3 separate regions of the Homo sapiens genome follow, and all the other regions are linked to region 1. Evidence: promoter capture Hi-C in 16 types of primary human blood cells and fetal thymus (Javierre and others, 2016). All regions are on one chromosome and are shown on one strand. The core of a region is centred on a gene start or on the middle of the fragment in contact, and the rest is flanking DNA. Distances in the headings are between cores, read along the strand shown. Region 1 holds the start of DEFA5 (defensin alpha 5). Region 2 has its middle 300 kb from the start of MCPH1-DT. Region 3 has its middle 280 kb from the start of MCPH1-DT.

The links. Contacts are between HindIII fragments. The CHiCAGO score rates a contact against its expected background, and 5 or more counts as called.
Region 2: a fragment that was not itself captured here is called in contact with the fragment with the promoter of DEFA5 in region 1 in 1 of 17 cell types (fetal thymus); the score reaches 8.7 in fetal thymus.
Region 3: a contact is called between a fragment that was not itself captured here and the fragment with the promoter of DEFA5 in region 1, in 1 of 17 cell types (fetal thymus). The highest score is 7.3, in fetal thymus.

The regions. Positions count from the first base shown.
Region 1 is chr8:7,055,318-7,058,093 of GRCh38, reverse strand. DEFA5 (defensin alpha 5) reads left to right here and starts at 1,355. Exons shown (of 2, transcript NM_021010.3): 1 at 1,355-1,568; 2 at 2,551-2,776. The coding sequence starts at 1,397. The coding sequence ends at 2,663. The HindIII fragment of the contact is 6,427 bases long and covers 1-1,893 here.
Region 2 is chr8:6,106,647-6,109,422 of GRCh38, reverse strand. No RefSeq gene overlaps it. Among named protein-coding and RNA genes, the nearest start is that of MCPH1-DT, 300 kb to the left of the region's middle. The HindIII fragment of the contact is 1,447 bases long and covers 620-2,066 here.
Region 3 is chr8:6,124,500-6,127,275 of GRCh38, reverse strand. No RefSeq gene overlaps it. Among named protein-coding and RNA genes, the nearest start is that of MCPH1-DT, 280 kb to the left of the region's middle. The HindIII fragment of the contact is 4,497 bases long and covers 1-2,776 here.

The DNA.
Region 1 (2,776 bases), core at 106-2,605:
AAATATAGAGACTCTCCAAGGGCCCACTGAGCCCCAAAGGATTTGGATCAAATATGGTGATATTATGGAAATATGTAGTAATATCTTAAAAATGTGTAAGATATAGTCTCTTTTTTTTTTTTTAAGAGAAAGGGGTCTCACTATGTTTTTAGGCTGGTATCGAACTCCTGGTCTCCAGTGATCCTCCCACCTCAGCCTCTCAAATAGCTAGAAATATAGGCATGTACCACCATGCTGGCTTAAGATGCATTCTTTGACACAGCAATTCTATTTCTATAAGTTTATCCATATAGGTAAGAGAACATATATACAAGATAATCACTGTAACTTTACTTATTACTGCAAAAGTTTAAAAATAACCAAATTGTAATAATTTTATAATATTTTATCAGTACAAAAAATAAGTGATGGCATATACAAACCCTGGGATAGTATAAGGCTATTAAAATTATAATAGCATTCCATGTATTTTGATATACAAAGTGCCAATGTTACAGGTGAAAAAAGCGAAGTGCAGAATACTATGTGTAACTGTTAATAGTGATGGTTTGCTGGGTCAGAACTGAAGGCCTGGGGGTAGAAATGAGAGCTCATGACTTCTACCTTTTGAATGTTGTTCCTTGTGCATGATTTACAATTTTCTAAAACTAAAAAAAAAATCTCAGAAAGGGGCTGTACGCACCTAAATTACTTTGATATTCCCCAAAGTGGAGAGAAGTACCCGCTACACATTTTATGTGATGCATTCAGATCACACCAACTCCTTGAACTAAATCCGAATTTTTATTTTAATCTGATAAACTTGGCCTACTATTTTACTGAACTCATTTCCCCTATAGCCTGATAAGGTCATTGACCTCTCCATACTGGCACCAGCGGGAGACTACTCACCTCGAGATCTCAAAAGCCTCCTACATGAGGTTAGTAATATCCCTGAATCCTGCAATGAATTAACTCTCTACTCCACTGAGTCCCAGGTCTGCCCCCAGAGAGTCATCCAGAGAGTACCAGGGACCATCTTCAGAAAACAAGAGGCATTTGATCCCCAAACTTCTTGAATGAAAGCGCTGTTGTTTTTCTTTTTTGAATATATAAAAGTAAATACTCAAGCAGATGGGAAACAGAACAGGATAGTAATACCCTTATCATCATTAACACCTTGGATCAAGAAGAGGCATTAAGCATACAGACTCACGCTTTGATGAAAGCTGGGAGAAAGAGGAGCATCAAAGGGATCTTGAGAACAAAGGCAGTCCTTCCCCTCCCAATCACATGCCCACCTCCTCTCACTGCAGCTTCTGTCTCAGGTCTTCTCCCAGCAGAGCTATAAATCCAGGCTGACTCCTCACTCCCCACATATCCACTCCTGCTCTCCCTCCTGCAGGTGACCCCAGCCATGAGGACCATCGCCATCCTTGCTGCCATTCTCCTGGTGGCCCTGCAGGCCCAGGCTGAGTCACTCCAGGAAAGAGCTGATGAGGCTACAACCCAGAAGCAGTCTGGGGAAGACAACCAGGACCTTGCTATCTCCTTTGCAGGAAATGGACTCTCTGCTCTTAGAACCTCAGGTAGGAGACATCAATCTTGCACATCTGCAAAATCTAGAAAAAAAGGATTGGAGAAAGGATCTGGAGTCAAGTGTGGAAAGGTCTACCTCACTTGAGTGACTTTACTTAATCTTCCTGGACCTTGATTTTCTCATCTATAAATTAATCAGTGAGAACCAAATAAATCTAAAAGATTTTCTTTTTTCTAAGACTTTCAGTTCCAAGATATTTCTGTGAAATTTGCTACTTTTAAGATAGAAAGAGCTACACTGACTAGTTCTTTGTAGATCTAAATGGGCAGACTTAGTTATATAGAGAGTGTTTTACTTTGTCCATTGGAAAAGCTTTTAGAACCTAGAGAGGAACCTATAGGTGTGTTTTGATGTAGGCTAATAGGCTTGATTAAATCTTTCTACAATACATCCTTAGATCAAAACATCATATTGTGTCTCATACATATACACAATTATTGTTTGTCAATTAAAACAAGTAAATATGTAAAATGTTAAAAAAAAAAAAAAAAAAAAAAAAAGGAGAGACAGAGAATGAAGAATTTGAATTTGGAAAGTCTTCAAAGACTCCTTGAGCACCAAAGTATTTGGTCCATGACATTAGCATGCACAATGCGGCATTTCAGAAACTGATTCAGGTGCTTTAGGGAGCCTTGTTAGGACCTGGAAATCACACATGGAGGTCAAGATTAGGCGTGTGGATGAAGCAGAATGAAGAGTAGGTAACCCTGAGGTTGAGAGGTATATTGTTGGACCAGGGAGCAGGTAATAAATACATCCTGGATAGACTCACATGGGGAAAAAAACTATGATCTTGCATGACTAACACATAGCTAGTAAGATTTCTTGTCACTTACGACAAAGACATGAATTTTCTCCATCCTAACATGACTGATACAGTGTCTCTTATTTAGACTATCTCAGTTAGTCTGGCTGTGCTTGTCCTTTTTCCCACCTCCCTCGCTGTGCCTGACCCTCTCTTCTTTCCACAGGTTCTCAGGCAAGAGCCACCTGCTATTGCCGAACCGGCCGTTGTGCTACCCGTGAGTCCCTCTCCGGGGTGTGTGAAATCAGTGGCCGCCTCTACAGACTCTGCTGTCGCTGAGCTTCCTAGATAGAAACCAAAGCAGTGCAAGATTCAGTTCAAGGTCCTGAAAAAAGAAAAACATTTTACTCTGTGTACCTTGTGTCTTTCTAAATTTCTCTCTCCAAAATAAA
Region 2 (2,776 bases), core at 94-2,593, 950 kb after region 1:
TACAGGGCTTAGGGTTGGATATCTTCAGTGGTATTTACCATAAGCCCCATGAAAATGGTGACACCTATCGTTGGAGGCCGCCCGTTCAATTTTATGAACAGGATAAGGCTCCTGTTCCAAGCTTAGTGTCTGGTGTGCAGGAGAGCAGGTTGCAAAGTGTTCCGAATTTGGGGTCTGGATCCAAGCTCCTTGTGTACGTAAATTTGAAGATGTTTTCTGGTTCTGCCCTCACAGTCAGCCCACAGACTGTCTTTGCAACCCCACAGGAAAAGATCACAGTCCTTCATGGCTGTGTCATTTTACACTCTAGCTTCTTTATCAAAGTTGCCTGCATTTATTTTTCCATCTGGTAAACTTTGATTTATCCTTCAAGATCCAAATTAAAAAACAAAACTTTTCAGCTGTAAAGTCTTTCCTGATTTTCCCTGCCAGGGTTAATTACTTTCTCGTCTTCCTTTTCACGGATGGACAGTACTCTGATGTCTGGGACGGTATCCGTTTTTAGAAAGCTTCTGAAGCTTCAGCGTGCATATGAGCTACCTAGGGAACTTGTCAAAATGCGTCTTCTGAGTCTGTGGGTCTAGGAGGGGGTCTGAGAGTCTGTAGTTTTTAATAAGCTTCCAGGTGATGCTGATGCTGCTTGTCTGAGAACCACACTTCAAGTAGCAAAGCTGTTTTATAGATGAATCCTAAGGTTTGGTGTAGAGTTTGTGCTCAGTCCAATTTGGCTGATTGTTGAATGAATGATACTTGATGCCCTTCATCTGTGGCTTTCTTAATGGGAAACTTGATTATCTAAAAAAAACATACAAATGAGATACATTGAGGTCATATTTAACACTTGCCTAATCAACTATATTTATTTGCTTAGACTGAGAACCTCCACATCTCTTTAACTTTTGGTAATAATAATAGCAAACATTTCCTAGGAGTTCGCATGCTATTTACTAAGCTCCCCTCTAAGCAGGATACATGCATTCACTCATTTCACCCTCAGAATAGCCCTAGGAGGTTGTAGATTTGTCAAAATAATGCTGTAACAACAACAACAACAACAAAAACCCCAAAAGGTATCATGACTCAAGCACAACAGAGTTCATTTCTTGTTCACATACAACTTTCATCAGGTGTTCCGATGGGAAGGTGACTCTCCTCCAAACAGTGACCCAGGGACCCAGGCTCCTTCTGTCTGTGATCCTGCCATCTTCACAAATGTGGCTTCCAAGTCACCGTGCTTGTGTGCATTATGTGGAAAAGAATTAGCGTGAGGATTGAAGGAGTGGTACACATCTTTTTATTCATTTTTCTTTGGCTATTACTCAAGCGTGTGGCAACAACTAACTAAAAGGGAGGTTTGAAAATGTTGTTCAACTGTATGCCTAGGGAAAAAAGGAGCTGTTTGGTAAATATAATCCAAGTGTGGCTAACCTAGGTATCTGAATGTGGTTAGTATTTCCCTAGTGCTATCCAAGGTCTCAATAGTAATGGTTTATGCTCTGAGGCAAAATGGGAACTCATCAGCAGTGGCTAGTTGGGAGAAAAAAGGACTGGCTACATTTATGCAAGAAAAAAGTGATCTGGCTGCAGAACTACTTAACTTTCCTCCAAAGCAGGAGGGTGGAATGGGAGGGCAGTAGTGCAGTCTAATGTGACCAAGTCAGGACTGGGGGTCAGCTCAAAGGATAGAAACGGAAATTGTAGCAGGGACATTTGTAGTCAGACAGAACAACAGTGTTTGGGGAGATTTGTCTCTAAGAACTGGGAAGACTCTGAGAACCCAAAACTCAGCTTGTGGGGAGGCCTAGAGTCACGGGCCCATTCCATGTCCTGCCCACTGGCAGGCTCTGTGAGGAAGCAGAGTTCAAACGTTGACATAAAGCGAGTGGGGTGTGGAAAGGTAGAGATGAATGAGCCCTGAAGGACAGGGCTTACTGAGAGGAAAGAGTTATTATGAGCACAGCACTGAAAACAAGCAGCTTTTTCGTAAGTACAATATAGTTCCTTTATGAGACTTCTTATTTTCTTCTTTTCTTTTCTTTTCTTTTATTATTATTATACTTTAAGCTTTAGGGTACATGTACACAATGTGCAGAGGTTAGTTACATATGTATACATGTGCCATGCTGGTGTGCTGCACCCATTAACTCGTCATTTAGCATTAGGTATATCTCCTAATGCTATCCCTCCCCACTCCCTCCACCCACAACAGTCTCCAGAGTGTGATGTTCCCCTTCCTGTGTCTATGTGTTCTCATTGTTCAATTCCCACCTATGAGTGAAAACATGCGGTGTTTGGTTTTTTGTCCTTGCGATAGTTTACGGAGAATGATTTCCAATTTCATCCATGTCCCTACAAAGGACATGAACTCATCATTTTTTATGGCTGCATAGTATTCCATGGTGTATATGTGCCACATTTTCTTAATCCATTCTATCATTGTTGGACTTTTGGATTTGTTCCAAGCCTTTGCTATTGTGAATAGTGCCGCAATAAATATACGTGTGCATGTGAGACTTCTTATTTTCAAATATTAACTCAATGTGGATCAAGGCCTTAGAAATAAAGGCAAAGGGGTGTAAGAGAAACAAGACTAAAACATTTAGGGAAAAAACCTTACAGAATCTAAAAGTATTTTTTTCATAGAAAAAAGTTTTATAATTGATAGAATATCCTTTATACTTTCAAGTTCCAGTATAAAAAAGGATTGTCCCTTATCCATTTCATTTCAGTGTAGGAGTTTACTGGGCTGGAGGACTTGCTGTCATTAAAGTACCAC
Region 3 (2,776 bases), core at 92-2,591, 930 kb after region 1:
TGGTGTATGGCAAAAATAAATTCAGAAATCTCTGTAGAAGAGCCTATTTCCAACTCTGGCCTCAATGAATTCCCAAAGATAAATTGGCAAGACACATGAGGTCATGGTAACATTTTTCTTAAAAAAAAAAATGCAGGCTACTGGTTGGGCATGGTGGCTCATACCTGTAATCTCAGCATTTTGGGAGGCCAAGGCAGGCAGATCACGAGGTCAAGAAATTGAGACCATCTTGGCCAACATGGTGAAACGCTGTGGTAAAATTTTTGTATTTGTAAAAATACAAAAATTAGCTGGGCGTGATAGTGCGCACCTATAGTCTCAGCTACTCAGGAGGCTGAGGCAGGAGAATCACTTGAATCTGGGAGGCAGAGGTTGCAGCGAGCCGAGATCGTGCCATTGGACTCCAGCCTGGTGACAGAGTGAGACTCCGTCTCACAAAAAAAAAAAAAAAAAAAAAAAAAGGCCACTGTAAGTGACAGCAGAAAAAACAGACAGCAGAATCAGACGCATTGGACTTCAGATAATGCACTTATTGAAGATAATATAAATGATTATGTTTAATATTTTTAAAGAAATAAAAGAGGTGTTGAAACATTTAATGAAGGTGAGAAGAAGAACTGACTTGGGTTGAGGGATTGGTGCCACTGAGAATCCGGATAATCACTCTGTCATTGATTGGTTATTTGACTAAATCAATACATTTATTTATTTATTTAGAGATGGGGTCTTTCTTTGCTCCTCAGGCTGGAGTGCAGTGGCTCTTCATAGGTTCCTTCATAGTGCACTGTGGCCTCCAACTCCTGAGATTTGGAGGTAAAAGTGTTCAATTGATTCTCCTGCCTCAGCCTCCTGAGTAGGTGGGACTACAGGTGCCTGCCACCATGGCTAATAATATTTACTAAGATTCTAAAATATGCCAGACAGGAAGGTAAGGAGGTTGGATAAATGGTGGAACTGGGAGATAATATAGGCGATATTGGGGTGCTCACATTGGATAGCTTTTTTAAAAAAAAATGCATTAGATTGGCTATGGTGAGAAATGCTGGAAGAGGAGGTATCAGATGCTTTAAAAGGAACAGAAAATGATGAAGAGTCCAAGATGAATTTCACTTGATTGTTGAACACTGAGCACTCCTGAAGCCTTGCACATCTGGACGCTGAGTTGAAGGACTCCTGTGTCAATCAGCAGTAGTGAGTGAATTGGTCAATACATTCCACAGTTTTCTTCTCCGTACAATTACGAGTTTGGATGGGTCACAAGAAAGGTTTCTCATGAGATTTGGAGGTAAAAGTGAAGTCTGGGTCTTATACTTTTACATGGAAGGATCTGTGAAGGGCATGAAGCTCTGTTGCAGCCCAAGCCCATGGTGCTCAGCTCCTGGCTCACCTTGGGATGGGACAGCAGCCACTCTGGTCCTGAGCATCTCCTCCTCCAGGGCCTTTGCCTCCTGTACCAGGTGCTTTTTTAGTTCCACGAGGAAGGAGCAGCTTCTGCGGCAGGCCACTGGCCTCCTCTGTTGAAGGCTCAAGCAGGTTCCCGTCGTTCTCCGGGGCTCCAGCTTGTCCTGAATTTCTCAGTGTGTCCTTGCTCCTCAACTTTATGTCCACTTCTCCTTTCTGCCAGCCTGTCCTGATGACTTTAGGCTCCTGCCCCAGACAGAAAAAGGTAGCCTCCTCACACAGGCTGTTTAATGAGCTCTTATGGTTGCTTGAGCTCCAATCTCTATGACAAATCCTCAGTCAAAATCCCCCCATAGTGGTTCTGTTTCTTCCATCAAACCCCGAATGATAGAAGGAGCATGAGTCAGCCTAGCCTCTGACCTTTCCCAACCATTCAGTGTTTAGACACAGACAACATTGGATTTCCTGTGGCCACATCATGAGCTCAGGCCCTTCTTATTTGTTGGCAGAGCAAAGGAAGTAGCAGAGTGAGGCTGTGATATATTCTAGTCCAGCACTTCTTAAATGTTTTGGTCTCAGAACACCTTTACACTCTTAAAATGTATTCAGGATCTCAATGAGATTTTGTTTAAGTGGGTCGTATCTGTTGGAATTTATTGCAAAAATTAAGACTTATTTAATTAAAAATTATAAAACAGATTATTCATTTAAAAATAATAAGCCCATTACATGTTAATATAAAAGTACATTTTTACGGAAATAACTGTTTTCTAAAACAAAAACAAGTGGGGTAAGGACAGTAGCTTGTTTTAAATTTTTTGCAACTCTGTTTAACATCTGGCTTCATGGAAACCAGCTGGATTTTTATATCCGCTTCTGCATTCAAACTTTTGTTAACATTCTGTGTCCGGTAGGCTCTGGAAGACTCCATTGCATATTTGTGAGAGATTAACAGTGAAAAGGAAAATGGCATCTTAGTAATATTGTGAAAATAGGTTTGTCTTTGCAGACTGCTTGAAATTTTGGGATTCCCCATGGGTTCCCAAACCACACTGGGGGACTGTTGGGTTAGTCTAAGGGCTGAGTTTAAGGGTGAATTGTTAGGGGGTTATGAGTACTGGTCACGGTTTCAGGAGAAAAGTGAAGATGCCTCAGTGGCTGGCTGGCCATTTCAGGACCTTGGATAGAGAAGAGAAAGGTGAGCACAAGGAAAGGCTTTTCATGCTCTCGCTGTTGTAGTTGGGGATGTCATGAGTCTTCCTTTGTACCTGTCAGTTAGTTGTGGAGTAGACTGTTTTGCTCTTTCTAAGACTTAGTCTCGAGCAATGAAAAGCCAAGAAAATTTTAAGAGATGACAAAGACCTTTTGTAGAAGA